4 separate regions of the Homo sapiens genome follow, and all the other regions are linked to region 1. The links are contacts of gene promoters, found by promoter capture Hi-C in blood cells and fetal thymus (Javierre and others, 2016). All regions are on one chromosome and are shown on one strand. Each heading gives the region's core, a stretch centred on a gene start or on the middle of the fragment in contact. The rest is flanking DNA. Distances are from core to core; before and after follow the strand shown.

The links. Contacts are between HindIII fragments. The CHiCAGO score rates a contact against its expected background, and 5 or more counts as called.
Region 2: a fragment that was not itself captured here is called in contact with the fragment with the promoter of KLF12 in region 1 in 1 of 17 cell types (non-activated CD4 T cells); the score reaches 5.0 in non-activated CD4 T cells.
Region 3: a fragment that was not itself captured here is called in contact with the fragment with the promoter of KLF12 in region 1 in 1 of 17 cell types (total CD8 T cells); the score reaches 5.3 in total CD8 T cells.
Region 4: a contact is called between a fragment that was not itself captured here and the fragment with the promoter of KLF12 in region 1, in 2 of 17 cell types (naive CD8 T cells and total CD8 T cells). The highest score is 5.4, in naive CD8 T cells.

What each region holds. Positions count from the first base shown.
Region 1 is chr13:74,132,876-74,136,316 of GRCh38, reverse strand. It overlaps KLF12 (KLF transcription factor 12), which reads left to right and starts at 1,913. Exons shown (of 8, transcript NM_001400136.1): 1 at 1,913-2,345. RefSeq lists a silencer at 417-2,166 and enhancers at 3,176-3,225, 3,256-3,435. The HindIII fragment of the contact is 3,671 bases long and covers 534-3,441 here.
Region 2 is chr13:73,917,090-73,920,530 of GRCh38, reverse strand. The region is part of intron 3 of KLF12 (KLF transcription factor 12); the gene reads left to right. Among named protein-coding and RNA genes, the nearest start is that of KLF12, 220 kb to the left of the region's middle. The HindIII fragment of the contact is 1,898 bases long and covers 647-2,544 here.
Region 3 is chr13:73,978,842-73,982,282 of GRCh38, reverse strand. The region is part of intron 2 of KLF12 (KLF transcription factor 12); the gene reads left to right. Among named protein-coding and RNA genes, the nearest start is that of KLF12, 150 kb to the left of the region's middle. The HindIII fragment of the contact is 1,193 bases long and covers 935-2,127 here.
Region 4 is chr13:74,278,407-74,281,847 of GRCh38, reverse strand. It overlaps a transcript of KLF12 not described here. Among named protein-coding and RNA genes, the nearest start is that of LINC00402, 49 kb to the right of the region's middle. The HindIII fragment of the contact is 8,951 bases long and covers 1-3,441 here.

The DNA.
Region 1 (3,441 bases), core at 664-3,163:
TAGGCCCAGGATCGGATCAGGGAGTGGGAGTTGCGGCTGCATTCCCCGGAACAGAGACCGCACCGCAGCAACCACCAACCCCTCACCCCCGAGTCCCACTGGGTTCCCGACGCCCTCGCTGCGCCCGCGCCTTCCCGCTCCCGCCGCTGAGGCTACTTCACTCGAGCAGTGCTCCACAAATTTCAGACATTTCTTCCTCTTCGAAACCTCAAGACCAGGACAGACCCCTCCTCTGAATCCTGCTGCCTTCCTAAGACGCATCTTAGGCTGTGGGACCCCTCCTCTAGGTTGGACCACCCATCCCATTTTCCCCAGAACCTAGGAGTGGCAAGAGGCAGAGAACGCACCAGGCAGACGCCGCCTTTGTTGTCATTAGGAACGCACACCGCGCCTGAAGTGGCTGGAAACCGCCACACCGATGGGGAGCCCAGCTGGCCCTGGCTCACATTCGTGCCTTCGTTCTCATTTCCTGTTTCTCGGCCTCTCCCTTGTTTCTCTTCCCACCCCACTCCACGCCACAGTACAGCAAAGCTTTCTCTCTGCACACAAACTTCCCCTTCCCGGCCTTCCCACAGCCCTGGCGATTTCCCACGCGGGGCGGGCCGGGCCGGGGGCGCGGGGCAGGGGAATACTGTCGTGCCCGGAGCGCCGCGCTCACCTAGGATGGTGAGGAGGCGGGCCCACAGCCTCCCGCCTCCGTCCGCCGCGCGCCCCGCCCGCCCGGCCGCTTCCGCCCCGTCTGCTCCCCGCCCCCGCCGACCCTCCGGCTCGGCGCTGACCCCGCGCCCTCCGAGCCGCCGCGGGAACTGCAGGGCCGCCCGGCCGCCTCCTCCCTCTCCCGCCCCACAATCCCGCGGATCCGCTCCCCGGGGCGCGGAGGCGGGGAGGGAGGGGCTGCCGGGGAGAGCGTCAAGGACTCGGCTCCGGGCCGTCCGCTTCTTGGGGCTCCGCTCTGGGCGTGGGGCAGTGGAGCTGGACTCCCTTCCCCGCCGCCCCCGGGCCCCGCGGGGGTCTGCAGATCCCGCTTCCTCTGCCCCAGTCCTCCAAGTTTGCGTGCTTTCCCACAGAACTGGCGCAGGCAGGGGCCCCTTCGCTGGGGTGGCGAGGCCAGGCGCGCATCTCCGCCTCGCCCCCATTCATCCCGCCAAGGTGAAGCGCAGGGAAAAGGGGCGCCCCCGCTTCGCCCGCAACGTGCGTCGCTCCGGAACCCAAACAATGACTCCCCTGCCTGCCGCGCCCGGCCCTCCGCCCGCCCCACCGGCGCGCGGGGGGCACCGCCCGCGGGGCTGCCCCTGCCTGACCCCATTGTTGCCCGGCGCGGGCGATGCCCGGCGCCCAGGGGCGGTCCCCGCGAGCTGCCCCACAGTCCCGGCCGGCTCCGCCCACACCTTTCCAAGTTCGCTGGCGGGCGAGCCGCGGGGACGACCCGGGCGACAGCCCCCTCCCTCCACTGCGCGCCCCCACCCGGGCGGGTGCGGCGAGGGGTGGGGGCCCAAGCGGGCTGCACGCTTTTTGGGTCCCCGAATTCTCCTAAGCCTGTCTGGCGCGCTCTGACACAAAAGAGGAGACTTTCTCGCGGCTCGGCGCGAGTCCTTGCCCAGCGAGTTGCTCTCCAGGGGTCCCTCCCGCCGCAAGCCCCCGCGGGCCCCCTCGGCCGACGACTCCCCGAGCTCCCAGGGCCATGTGTGGGTTATTTGGGGTGCCGCAGCAAAGTGGTGCAGGTGAAAGGGAAGCGCTGCCGAGGCCCGGGGCCGGAGGGCGGGGGCAGGGGTGGGGCGGGGTGGGGCGGGGTGGAGGCGCCGCGGACCCAGCCCGGCGGTCCGGGCGGGGAGGCGAGGGCCGGGCAGTGGGTGTTGCCTTCTACCTCTGCGAGCGGGGAGGGGTTAGTTTCCCACAGGGGATTTCAACCATCACACTCAGAGCCCGCCTCCTAATCCTCGGGCGGAGCGGCTCGGGGGCCCCATTTTATGGCAATAAAGCGACTTAGCGCCTGCTGAGCGAGCCCCTCCCCGCCGCCGCCCCCGCCCTCGGCCCCACCCCGGGGCTCGCCGGCAGCGGCGGGGCTTTGTTTCTGGGGAGGAGGACCCGGAGCTCTTTTGTTTGGGGGTTTCTTGTTTTCGGCCCCCCCCCTCACAGCACCCCACCCCACCCCACCCCAAGCGCCTCTCCGGTTTCCTGAGCTGCGGGCTGCGAGGGAGGAGAAGCGGCGTCCTGCAACCCCCTCGGCTGGGCCCCGGGGTAATTCGATGCGGGCCTGGCGAGGCTCCCCACACTAGACCGGGGCTCGCAACTCGGCAGCCTCCACCCACCGGCCCACCCTACATTTAGCGCATCATGTGATCCGGGTAAGTCATTTGCAAGTACAACAGTTCCCCGGGTTGCCCCCCATTCATTTCCTGAGAACTGCAGAGAGCCGCTGAGAGGCTCTGCGTGTGCGTGTGCGCGGGTGACGCCGTGTGTGTGCGAGTGTGTGTGTGTGTGTGCGCGCGCGCGTGTGAGAGAGAGAAAGGGAGAGAGAGAGGGGGACTCTGTGTGAGGGAAAGAAAACAATTTCTCCTGCTCTGCAGCTTCTGTTCAGGTCTGTGCCGATTCCGTTTCTTATCAAAATAAACAACCCCCTCCTCTTTTTTTTTTTTTTTTGCCATCCCAAATCAGACCGTATTCTCTTAACGTGTTTTATTTTCCTTCTGTCATCTGCTCAAGTTAAATCATTTTGGTTGGTCTGTGTTCTTAAAGGGGGAAAGTGCTGGGAAGCGGGAGGGGGCCGGGGAAGGGCGATGCTGTTGCAAAGCAAGTAGCGTCGGTCGGATTCGTGGAGAAGAAAGAAGGAGGTTTCTTCCCCACCTCCCCTAATTTTTTTTTTCCAGAAGAAGTTATCAAGTAACGTGAATTAAGCAAGTGTTTTTCTACCCCTAGTGGAATTGTTGGTTGCAGTGTTTGCCTGACAGTTGCCAAGGATGTGAAATAAAACCCCAGGGCTGAACTTGGGGGGGAGGGGGGGCTCGTGGAAGTAGTTGGCCCCCCGGCCTCGAGCGGGGTGGATGAATAGCTCCGCACCGGGACCGTGTGGGCTGTGTGTGCGCGCTGGAGAGAGTGGAGGGGAAGGGGTTAAGGCGGAGATGACACTGCTGGCATGAATAGTGCTCCTGGTGCTACATTCATTATTGTCTCTGGTCGTAATGATGTGTAACTGTCACTTGCTACAGTGCCTGGTCCATGCAAGTAGCCAGGGGCTGGCCGGTGGCTGTTATTTTCAATTACGGGGGACCTGGCCGGAGTTGACAAGGGGCAACTTTGTACGTCCACCCGGGCCGGGAACCCGCAGAGCCGGCCTGGGAGCCACTTCTTGCCTCAGAAGCTCACTCTGAGGGTTCAGACTTGACCTCCGCGACATTAGTTGGTGTTCACGTTAGATGCTCCCCTACGGGGAGAATCAGTCCT
Region 2 (3,441 bases), core at 346-2,845, 220 kb after region 1:
ATTTGGAAAATAGAGAAAGGGGATTTTGAAAGTTTGTATGTTACAATCACATTTTAGTTTTTAAATTTTGGAGAAAGACTTGACTAAGCAGTTAAATCATTTTTTAAATACTGGGCTGGTATTTTCTTGAGCAAGACCTTGTACCTGGCCCATAAGATGACTTATCTCCACTTAGCTTACATACATTAAAAAAAAATGTATGAAGACACAACCAAGCTTCACACACATAGGCATATATGTACATAGTTATACATATGTGTATGTTTATGCAGATATAAACTTATATACACACAATACAAATATTTATGTGTAATATTTGTGCATATTCATGTAATTTATACATGAAGTATGTTTATACTTAAATTAATTTGCATGCACAAGCACCAGTTACATCTCATAGTATTGGCACTGCTGTGCAGTATTGTTTAGAACAGGCTTTTCAAGCTAGTTTGCATCTTTCTGAATTTGAAGGAGAAAAGATGCTAACAGTAGAGCACCCGAACGGAGAGGGAGTGGATGTCCCGACAGCAAATTCTCTCAGTGGAATGCGGGGTAACTAATGCTGCTGGCCGGACTTCCTTTCTATAAGTTGAGAAAATTCAGGGGAGAAAAATTTATAATAAAGAAATAATAGTAGCAATAAGCTTCGATATTTCTCAGTTAAGGGTTCAGAATCTAAGGATATAATCTCCAAGTGGGTTGCAGGGCAACCCTGATGTACTAGAACACCTCACATGAGGAATGAACATGTTGCAAATCCTTATGAAGTTATGTTGCTTTTTGTAATATATTGATTACAATATCCAGATTTCTGGATGCATTCAAATGAAATTAGAGGATTGATTCACAACAATATGGCGTGCAATGTTAATGATATAGTTGGGAATTGGAGACGAGTGAAATGCAACAATAAACAGCATTATTTACCCGTTAGGGCAAACTGTACAGTGATGTAGCCAATTTTAATTTGGACTTAATTGTTGAGGGAATTTAGACCTTTTTTTAAAAAAAATTACTGTGGATTCATTTTGTTTTCTATCTATTCTAGATTTAGGATTTAGAGAAAGACAGTGTTCTTTCCTGTATCAAGATCAGCAGCAGGATTAATGGAGAAAATCCAGGTTGTCTCTGTGCAGTCTAGCAGCATCATAAAAGGCAGTTGTTTTGGATTAGTTACTGTTAGGTTTTGTTATAGGAGTCAGAACTCCTCTGTCATGGGGTTAGCAAATTTTCTAGGGCATTGATTCAACTTATGGATAACCATTCTAGGAATTTTCATGGTAAATCCTGGGTGACACTTTAGGAGCTCCCTTGTTAGAATTCTTGAAGGAACAGCTGAACTAAATCAATGAATTTTCTGTGAACTTCAAGATTTCCTAAAAATAATCTTTAAGTATCTGGGGGCCTCTGTGGATGTGGACAGTGCTCCTGGGTAGTTACAAGTTCTCCCATTTGTTCCCAGAAGCTCAGGAGCAGATGTGCTCTTTGAGTTAGTACCAACAGTTTGATTCCAGGGTACCCGTTTAGCTTGTGGCATTTGGCAGGGATTCTCCAGAATCAGACTGGTTTTCAGAGTAGTCAAACTAACTCAATTCAGAGGTAATGACATGTTTCAGGTCTTCAGAACTTTGGCAGCACAACTCAAAACAGGAATTAAGAGTAAACCGAGCAACATTAAAGAGTCTAATAGCAGCACGGTTTAGAGTTCATCAGTTCAAACCTCACAATAGCAGTTAGGGTTCTCTTAACACTTCTGGGGTTCTGGCAGGAGAAATCCAGTGTCTAGCCAAACTCAAGATCAGGTGGTAAGAAATAAGTCCTTGTTGGATAATTCTGTTACTGGCATCCTTTCTTATTTTCTAGTTTTGATTGTTAAGTAGCTCTCTAAATGTTGTCTTTGTATTGGGTAAAGAGCTTGAGTCTCAATGAGTTTGGGTTATATCTAGCTCACATCACAGAGTCTGAAATTCTTGGAGTTTATTTTTTATCAAGTATAAAAATCGGCCTAAAATAGTTCTGTGTAAAAAAAATATCTTGTATAGTACTGGGGGATGAGGTGAGAAATGTGCCTTAAGTTAGTAGGCATTTATGTAGTCCATCTACATCATGGACTGGAGGATTGAATTTTCTAGTAGCAATTTAAAAGAGAGAGCAGTAGACATAGTTGTAGACATTTCAGTGGTGGAACTTCAAGGTAGAAATATTGCCATGGAAACAAAGATTTGAGTAGGAGTAAGAAGAGGAGTTACAAAAGGAGGAATATTTGGGGAAAAAAAGAAAAAGTATGTTTTAAGTTTTACTTATAATTGTGTTTGCCAAGTCTGCATTCCCTTTTGAGCTGGTTCCTTGGTTCTTTTCACTTAGTTTTGTGAGTGTGGGCAGGAAAATACATCTCTCTCTCTCTCTCTGTATACATAGATATGTGTGTGTGTATATGGTGTGTGTGTGTGTAGATGTTGGTGTATATATTTGTTTGTATATATGTGTACGTGTGTATATAACCAGACTAAGCATTTAAAGACTACCCCTTAGCTAGACTAAGCTTTTTAACTAGATTAAGCATTTAATGACCTAAAGGTCAGGAATTTTTTTTTTTTCATTTCTCACTGTGTCTTCACAGTAGAAAAGCCCAACAAATATTGTTTGTTTAGAATTTTTTACTTAGTTTGATTTTTAAAATGCCTTCTGAATACCTATTATGTACAAGACATTGGCCTAGATGCTGTGGGGTCACCAAATACATAATCTGTAATCTCCAATACAAAGAGTTTACACTCAAAGCAGGATACTTGTAGCAGGAATAAAAATATTAGCTAGTGTTTGTTTATTGCCTGTTTGCCAGATTTAGTATTTCATGTATTTAATTCTTCTGACAAACTTATGAGGTTAACTATTACTATCTTTCTCTTCCTTGAAGAAACTGAGTCTTAAGAATGATCTGCCAGTCAGGGTGTTAACTACAAATAAATGGTAGAGTCCAACTTGGTACATAGTATAAACTAAAAGCTGGGCTCTTAAATATACTTCTATGTTGCCATCATATATGTATGTCATAAGCAGTATGGGCGGGTACAAAAACATAGGTATTTAAAAATAATAGATTTCTAAGCATAGGGTGATTATATCTGATTTACAAGGTGTAGAAGGGCTCCAAGGTGGTGACCACTGATCTAGGCATTGGAAAGGTTAGTGTAAATATGAGAGGAATCACTCTAGGCAGAGGGGGTAGTACCAGGAAAGGTGTTGAGATTTATTAGTATAGTAAGTGCCTGTCTCCTAGTACAAATGCTATGTATTGAGTTTTTTATAGCATTTATAAAGTAATCATTTTTGTAGCAGATAAAATGGACACTAAGAAAATGGAATGTTTCCTTTTAAGGCAGGGCCAATCAGACACTTGGTATATAATCCATGCTGAACCTTGGATAGTGAATTTTTGGT
Region 3 (3,441 bases), core at 282-2,781, 150 kb after region 1:
AACCACTTTTCCTTGTGCTTTTTGTATTGCAAATTAAGTTTCTATTCATGCCTTAAAAATAAAATAACTGCTTCTGTTGTGTGATGAGCATATCACCTTAATAAAGCAAATCCTAGTCAATGAAGTTAATGTTTTTCAAAATCAGACTTTGAAAGTTCTTGTTTAACCAATTAAAAGAATTAATCACTCTAGTCAACAAAGCACAGGGGAGATAATTTATTAAGTATTTGAAAGATAAAAAAGAATATATATGTATTGACTGTGTAAGTTGTAAGCCATGATAACAGAGAAACCTAACTTAAAAAAGTAGATTGTTTCCAGTATTTTTTTTCAAGACCCCTTTTAGTCCCTTTCTTAGCCTGTCTGGGCTGCTGTAACAAAATACCTTAGACTGAGTAATTTATAAATACTAGAAATGTATTGCTCAGAGTTTGGAAGCTGGGAAGTCCGAGATGAACTCTCCAGCAGATTCAGTGTCTGGCCAGGGGTTACTCTTAGCTGCATTTTCTCTTGGCAGAAGGGACAAGGCAGCTTCGTAAATCACCTCCTAAAAGGCACCGCCTCTTATTACCACTGCAGTGGAGATTAGGATTCAACACGAATTTTGGAGGGACACATTCAGACAGTAGCAGTCTCACACATAACCATTTATCCTGAATTTTGTATTATAATTTCCTTTCTTTTCATCATATATAAGTACATGTTCAAACTATGTATCATTTACTTTTGTTTGTTTTGAGACATATGAATAGTACCATACTGTTTATATTTTTATGATCTGCTTTTTTTACTTGACATTGTTGTTTTTGATATTCATTCACATTGATGCGTATAGGTAAGATTATTTATTTCCACAAATGAATAGAATTCTATTTTATGACTACACCATAATTTATCCATTTTTCAGCAATGGACATTCCTATTCTTTTAAGCTTTTTGCTATCTTAAACCTGCTATGAAGAGTCGTTTAAATGTGTCCTGGTACAAATATAGAAGATTTTCTCTGGAATATATACCCAGAAGTAGAATTGCTGGATTGTAGAGAAATTTTCAACTCTCCTGGATAATGTCCAATTGTTTTCCCATGTAGTTGCAATAGTTTTTTGTTTGTTTGTTTGTTTGTTTCTGAGACAGGGTCTTTGTCTCCCAGGCTGGAGTGCAGTGACACAAACACAGCTCACTGTAGCCTCAACTGCCCTGGCTCAAGCAATCCTCCTGCCTCCATATCCCAAGTAGCTGGGACTTCAGGCAGGCATCACCACGCCCGGCTAATTTTTGTATTTTTTATAGAGACAAGGTTTTGCCACGTTGCCCAGGCTGGTTTCGAACTTCTGGCCTCAAGTGATCCTCCTGTCTTGGCCTCTCAGAGTGCTGGAATTACAGGTGTGAGCCACTGTGCCCAGCCTGCAACAGTTCCTAAATAGTACTGTTTAATAGTCCCATTTTACCACGTCCGTACTAACTGTGGGTGTCTGCTGACATTTGAAGATTTTTCAATCTGGTGTGCGTTAAATAGTGTCTCACTGTAGTTTTAATTGCATTTTGTTATTAATGGTTCATATGTTTATTGATTATTTGGACTTCAGCTTCTTTGGAATCATTTTTGTCTTTTGACCATTTTTCTATTGAATGGTCATCTTTTTTGGTAGGGATGATGGGGTAGATATTCAGGATTGATTAAATGTATAGAAATTATTTTCTCTGAGATGGTAGATTTTTACTTTTTATTTTGATTTAATATTTAGTTTTGTTGAATTTATAAATATGTTTAATGCTTTTTCTATTCAACTTCATCATGATAATTTTATATCCCACTGGGATATGTTTAGTAATATTTTATATAGGATATTTGCATCTATTTTCATAAGTGAGATTGGCTGTAACTTTTAAAAAAATATTCTGACTGGGTTTTGGTAGCTATGTTAGAATCTTTTTCTATCTTTTGGAAGAATGTGCATAAACAATTATCTACTCTTTAAGGATTTGGTAGAACCCATTTATCTGGGATGAGTGGCTTTTTGTGGGTAAAATTTGAACTTAAAATTCAATTTTTAATGGTAATAAGACCAGGTTTTCAGTTTCTTCTTGAGTCAGATTTGATAAATTGTATTTGGTTTATTGTAAGCTTTCAAATGCATTAGGGTAAGATTGTACTAGTTTGCTAGGGCTGCATAACACAGTACCACAGATTTCATGACTTAAACAACCGAAATTTATTTTCTCACATTTCTGAGGGCTAGAAGTCCAAGATAAGGTCTCAGCAGGGTGGATTTTTTTCTGAGGCCCCCTCTCTGGCTTGGAAATGGCTGTCTTCACCCTGTGCCTTCACGTGGTCTTTTTTTTCTGTGTGTCTTTGTGTCCTAATCTCCTCTTCTTATAAGAACACCAGCCATTGAAGTAGGATCTACCCATATGACCTTATTTTATCATAATTACCTCTTCTGAAGTCCCTATCTCTAAATAGAGTCTCAATATTCTGAGGCTCTACAGGTTAGGACTTCAACATATGAATTTCTGAAGGGACAAAATTCAGCCCATAACAAAAATGTTCACAGTAGTCTATTATATGTTTAACCTCGCTGTATCTGTACTTATGTCTCCCCTTGTGCTTTATTTAGTTTATTTCATAATGATTGATTGCTTTTACATTATTTTTTCATTTGGTAAATATTACCAAGGATTTGACAATTTCATAGTCTTTCCAAAGCATTTCCTTTTGTTTATTTCCATTGTATCTTTCTTCTCTATTTTGTTAGCTTTGTCTTTTTCTTAAAATTTCTGAGTTTATTCTCATATTCTTTGTCTTCTAAATTTAGTTGCTGAGAAAATTAATCTTTAATTAAAAAATTTCTCTCCAGACAGCATTAGCTGTATTCCATGATTTGTGTGTGTGTGTGTGTGTGTGTGTGTGTGTGTGTGTGTGTGTGTTTAAAAGCAGACTGTTTTTAAAAGAAATGTTAGGTTCATAGCAAAGTTGAGCAGAGTAAGTAGAAATTTCCCATAATTGCCTCTGCTCCGACACACATGTAGCCTCTCCCATTATCAACATACCCCACCAGGATGATACGTTTATTACAGTTGAGTGAGTAACCTACCTTGAGGTATCATTATCACCCAAAGTTCCTGGTTTATATTAGTGTTTCCTCTGAGTGTTGTATATTCTACGGGTTTTAACAAATGTACAATGGTACATATCCTCTGATATAGTTTCATACAAAGCAGTTTCACTGCCATGAAAATCCTCAGTGCTCTTCCTGTTCATCCCTCTGTCTCCCCAACCCTTGGCAACCACTGATTGTTTTATTGTCTTCATAGTTTTACTTTTCAAGGATATTGCATAGTTGGAATTATAATAGTGTGTAGCCTTTTCAGATTTGCTTCTTTCACTTAGCAATATGTATGTAAGTTTCCTTCATGTCTTTTCATGACTGATAGCACACA
Region 4 (3,441 bases), core at 661-3,160, 150 kb before region 1:
AAATGTCAACACAGTTTCCATTTATTTCAAACTATTGTGAGAGATATTGAATTATTGTGCAAGAAAAATATCCACCCCATACCCACAGAGAAGATTGCAACAATCTTCCAAAATGGAGAATGTCTTGTAACCAAGCACATAGATCAAAAAATGATTTATGTGAGCCACTGAATTTGTACATATTTTGATGTTATTCATTCTATAGCCTTATTCCATTACCTTGACAGAAGAAAATGTGTATCTGTTTCTAAACTTAGATTCTAACTGATTTTTAAAATGTATTTATAGCTTTGACATAGTTGAAAGCAATTAATGTACCTTACAATAAAATATATACCCTAGTACTTACTTTATCCCTATTTCTCTAAGAACTGGTTTTCTTTGATTAATAACTCCATGCCATATCTAATTTTTAAATGCCTTGCATCCACACTTATCACACCAAAATACTTTAACATTCTTTAAGTCTTAATTCTTATCTCCTCAAGGTTTTGCGGGAAAGAGGGACAGGAATAACCTTTCACCTTTGTCTCTGATGACAGTCAGTGCAAAACTACTTCATCATCCCAGCAGGGAAGGCCAATACATTCCCAGCAAGTATAATTTCTACCAGAACAACTCATGAAATGTGGTAAGAAATAGTGTGTGGGTGTCTTAAGATAATACTTTTTAAAAAAAAATAGAGAAGAGAGTTTTAAAAATCATTCTTTTTAAAATGAGATCTAAAAGGGGGAAGATGAAAGAAAAATGTGCAGAAAAATAAAATACAACAAAGTATAGATATTATATACAAGACCATGGGAGTTATAAGTCTAGGAGAAGCATAAGAACCCATTAGTAATGGATTACAAATAGTTTTCACCCCACTGTAAAGTAGTTGTGGGAGAGAGTATCAGACATATCAAAAGTAGTGGCTATCTGATTGTGGTTCCAGATAAGGTTAGTATATTCTTGAGTTTGTTTTCCTCCCTTTTTCTGTGCCAGTTTTTATGGCACAGTCCTTGGCAAAAAAAAAAAAAAAAGAAAAAAGAAAAAAAAGATGAGTATGGTGTAGTTTCTACATACAGTTCGTCATCTGTTAGGGAAAAGGGTAGATAGAAAAATTCACGAAACAGTATTTGCTATGATTTTCACAGGGTGGTGGAAAACCAAAGGTTCTTTCACTGCTCTGACTCCATCCACAAGGGTACACCACGAGGGTACTTTCTACCACCAACTTGCAGAAAACTAGAGAATGTGACCAGAGATCATGTTTTGATCCCAAGATGGGTTTCCCCATTGGGTCTCTTTCATTAGCCTCCCTGACTACTGACAAAGTTGCACAGTTTTCACCACCATGAGAAACAATCTGTGTATAGATGTGTAAATTTCCAGTGTGTATTTTTATATGGCTTAAGGGTAAATCAGATAATAAGGCAAGCTCACTTCCCTGACCACACCTTTACTCAGAAGTCTAAGGAACAGACTGTTTAACCTGTTTCCAGTGGTTTCAGGGACTTCTGTATTGGGTGTAGCAAGGACAAAACTGGTCATTACACTCTACCCAAAAAGATCATTAGACCATATCAGGTTGCAGTCATGCTTTTGGAAACTTGGACATGTTTCTTAACTTCTCTGAGCAACTGTGTCCTAATGTGTAAAGGAGATATGAGACTGGCTTGCAGCATTGTTGTGAGGATTGGTAATTATTTATGTGACAATAGAATTTAATAGATGATAACAATTATTAATATGCTCACCAACCACTCAGGATAAATTTTAAAAGGAAGGTTTGTAAGCCCATTTGCAACCCTAAGGATATGCTACAGAGGCTGCTAACAAGAAATATTACTAAAATCTCTTCCTTGTCCCATTGTCCAGACCAAAGTTATTCAACACTTCTGGTCCTCTGTGCTTAAGATAACATTCTTGTGCATCCCTCTGCTCTTAGAGACTTTCACCTTCTCTCATAAATTTGCCCAAGACTTAGATCCCCTTTAACCATGAGAATAAGTCAAAACTTTTTAACATGGAACTTGAGGGTCCTTAAAATCTCAAATCAAACTAGTTTAACAACACTTGACAATGTCCATTATGTACTCCGTGCTCTTTTTCTATTGAGTCCACTATGGGACAACCACCTGATGTGTTTTCCTGTACCACATGTTTTTTGTTCAAGCTAAACTCCAAAACTGACATGTGTTTTACCATTTTGTTCATTGGTTACAGAACTGATGTTCCCATTACTGTGCTTAACATGCTGATTCAGTTCAACACTTTACTGTGCTGAATTAAGTTTAGCCCTTAATATATTCCTCAAAGAGCACTTATGACTAAAAAAAAAAAAAATGAACAAAATTTCTGTTTATTTCAAACCATTGTGAGAGATACTAAATTGTTGTGCAGAAAAAAAAAATTTTTCTTACCCACCAAAAGTTAAACCACACTTTGCCAATATGCATGGTTAGTTTTGGGGAGTTACATAACATTTCTTCCATTTAGGGTGGAAGTCATAGAAGTCAGAATGTAAAATACTTTACATTCAGGATAGAAGGCCAAGAGTCTAAGTACAAAGATCAGAGCCAAATGCATTACTTTTAGAAAGAGCTGTCTAGCATCAACTAAATTAAAGTGCACAGTGGGGCTTCCTACGTCCCATTATGGTTTAATATCCCAGTGCTGTGATGGAAGAGACTCTCCCCCAGGGGATTTTAAGCACAGGTATGTCCAAGAGGGAAAGAATGAGTCTAGAACCTGTTTGGGCAGAGTAATATGACCCACTAGTACATGGATGTAGTCAAAGGATACGGGCTGTCTCCAGTTTCACTAGAGTTGATACTGCCAGAGCTTCTTGGGTAACCATGGGAAAAGATGTATTACCTCTTCCTGGCAAAAGTAGCCAAAGTCATCTCCCCACCATGGAAAGTGGTGGGGTATCTTCTTATTGAATAAGAGGAGCCAGAGAATCAACATTCCTTAACAGTTCCTTAATTAGTGTTCTTAACAGTGACACTATAACTGGATATTAACATAAGATCTTCTCTCTGTTTTGGCTGAGGCCTGAAACTAATAGATGCTACATTTCAAAATGAGATTTGAAAAATATCCCATGGCAGAAAATTAATTTTGCAGCTTCTGAGATAGTAGCCCTCCTTTAAAAAGTTAGGAAAAGGTGAGAAAAGGCAGCGGGTGGAGATTGAGGAGGATTTTTGGAGACAGCTATTGGAGCGCAATGTGGTCCTCACTCTCTGCCTCAAGTCAAAAGAGGGGGTTTTTAAGGAACAACCACGAGGATTTAATATGTGTCCTTGGCTGTTTGGAGGACACTGTGGACTGGTGCCTTGATTCTAGCTTGGAAAACCTAAAATGCAAAACCTAGGCTGACAGATTCCCTTGTGGAAGAAGGAAAGAGAGTTGTTGCTGAATTGGGATCAGTATGTAGACAAAGAATTTAGATGGAGA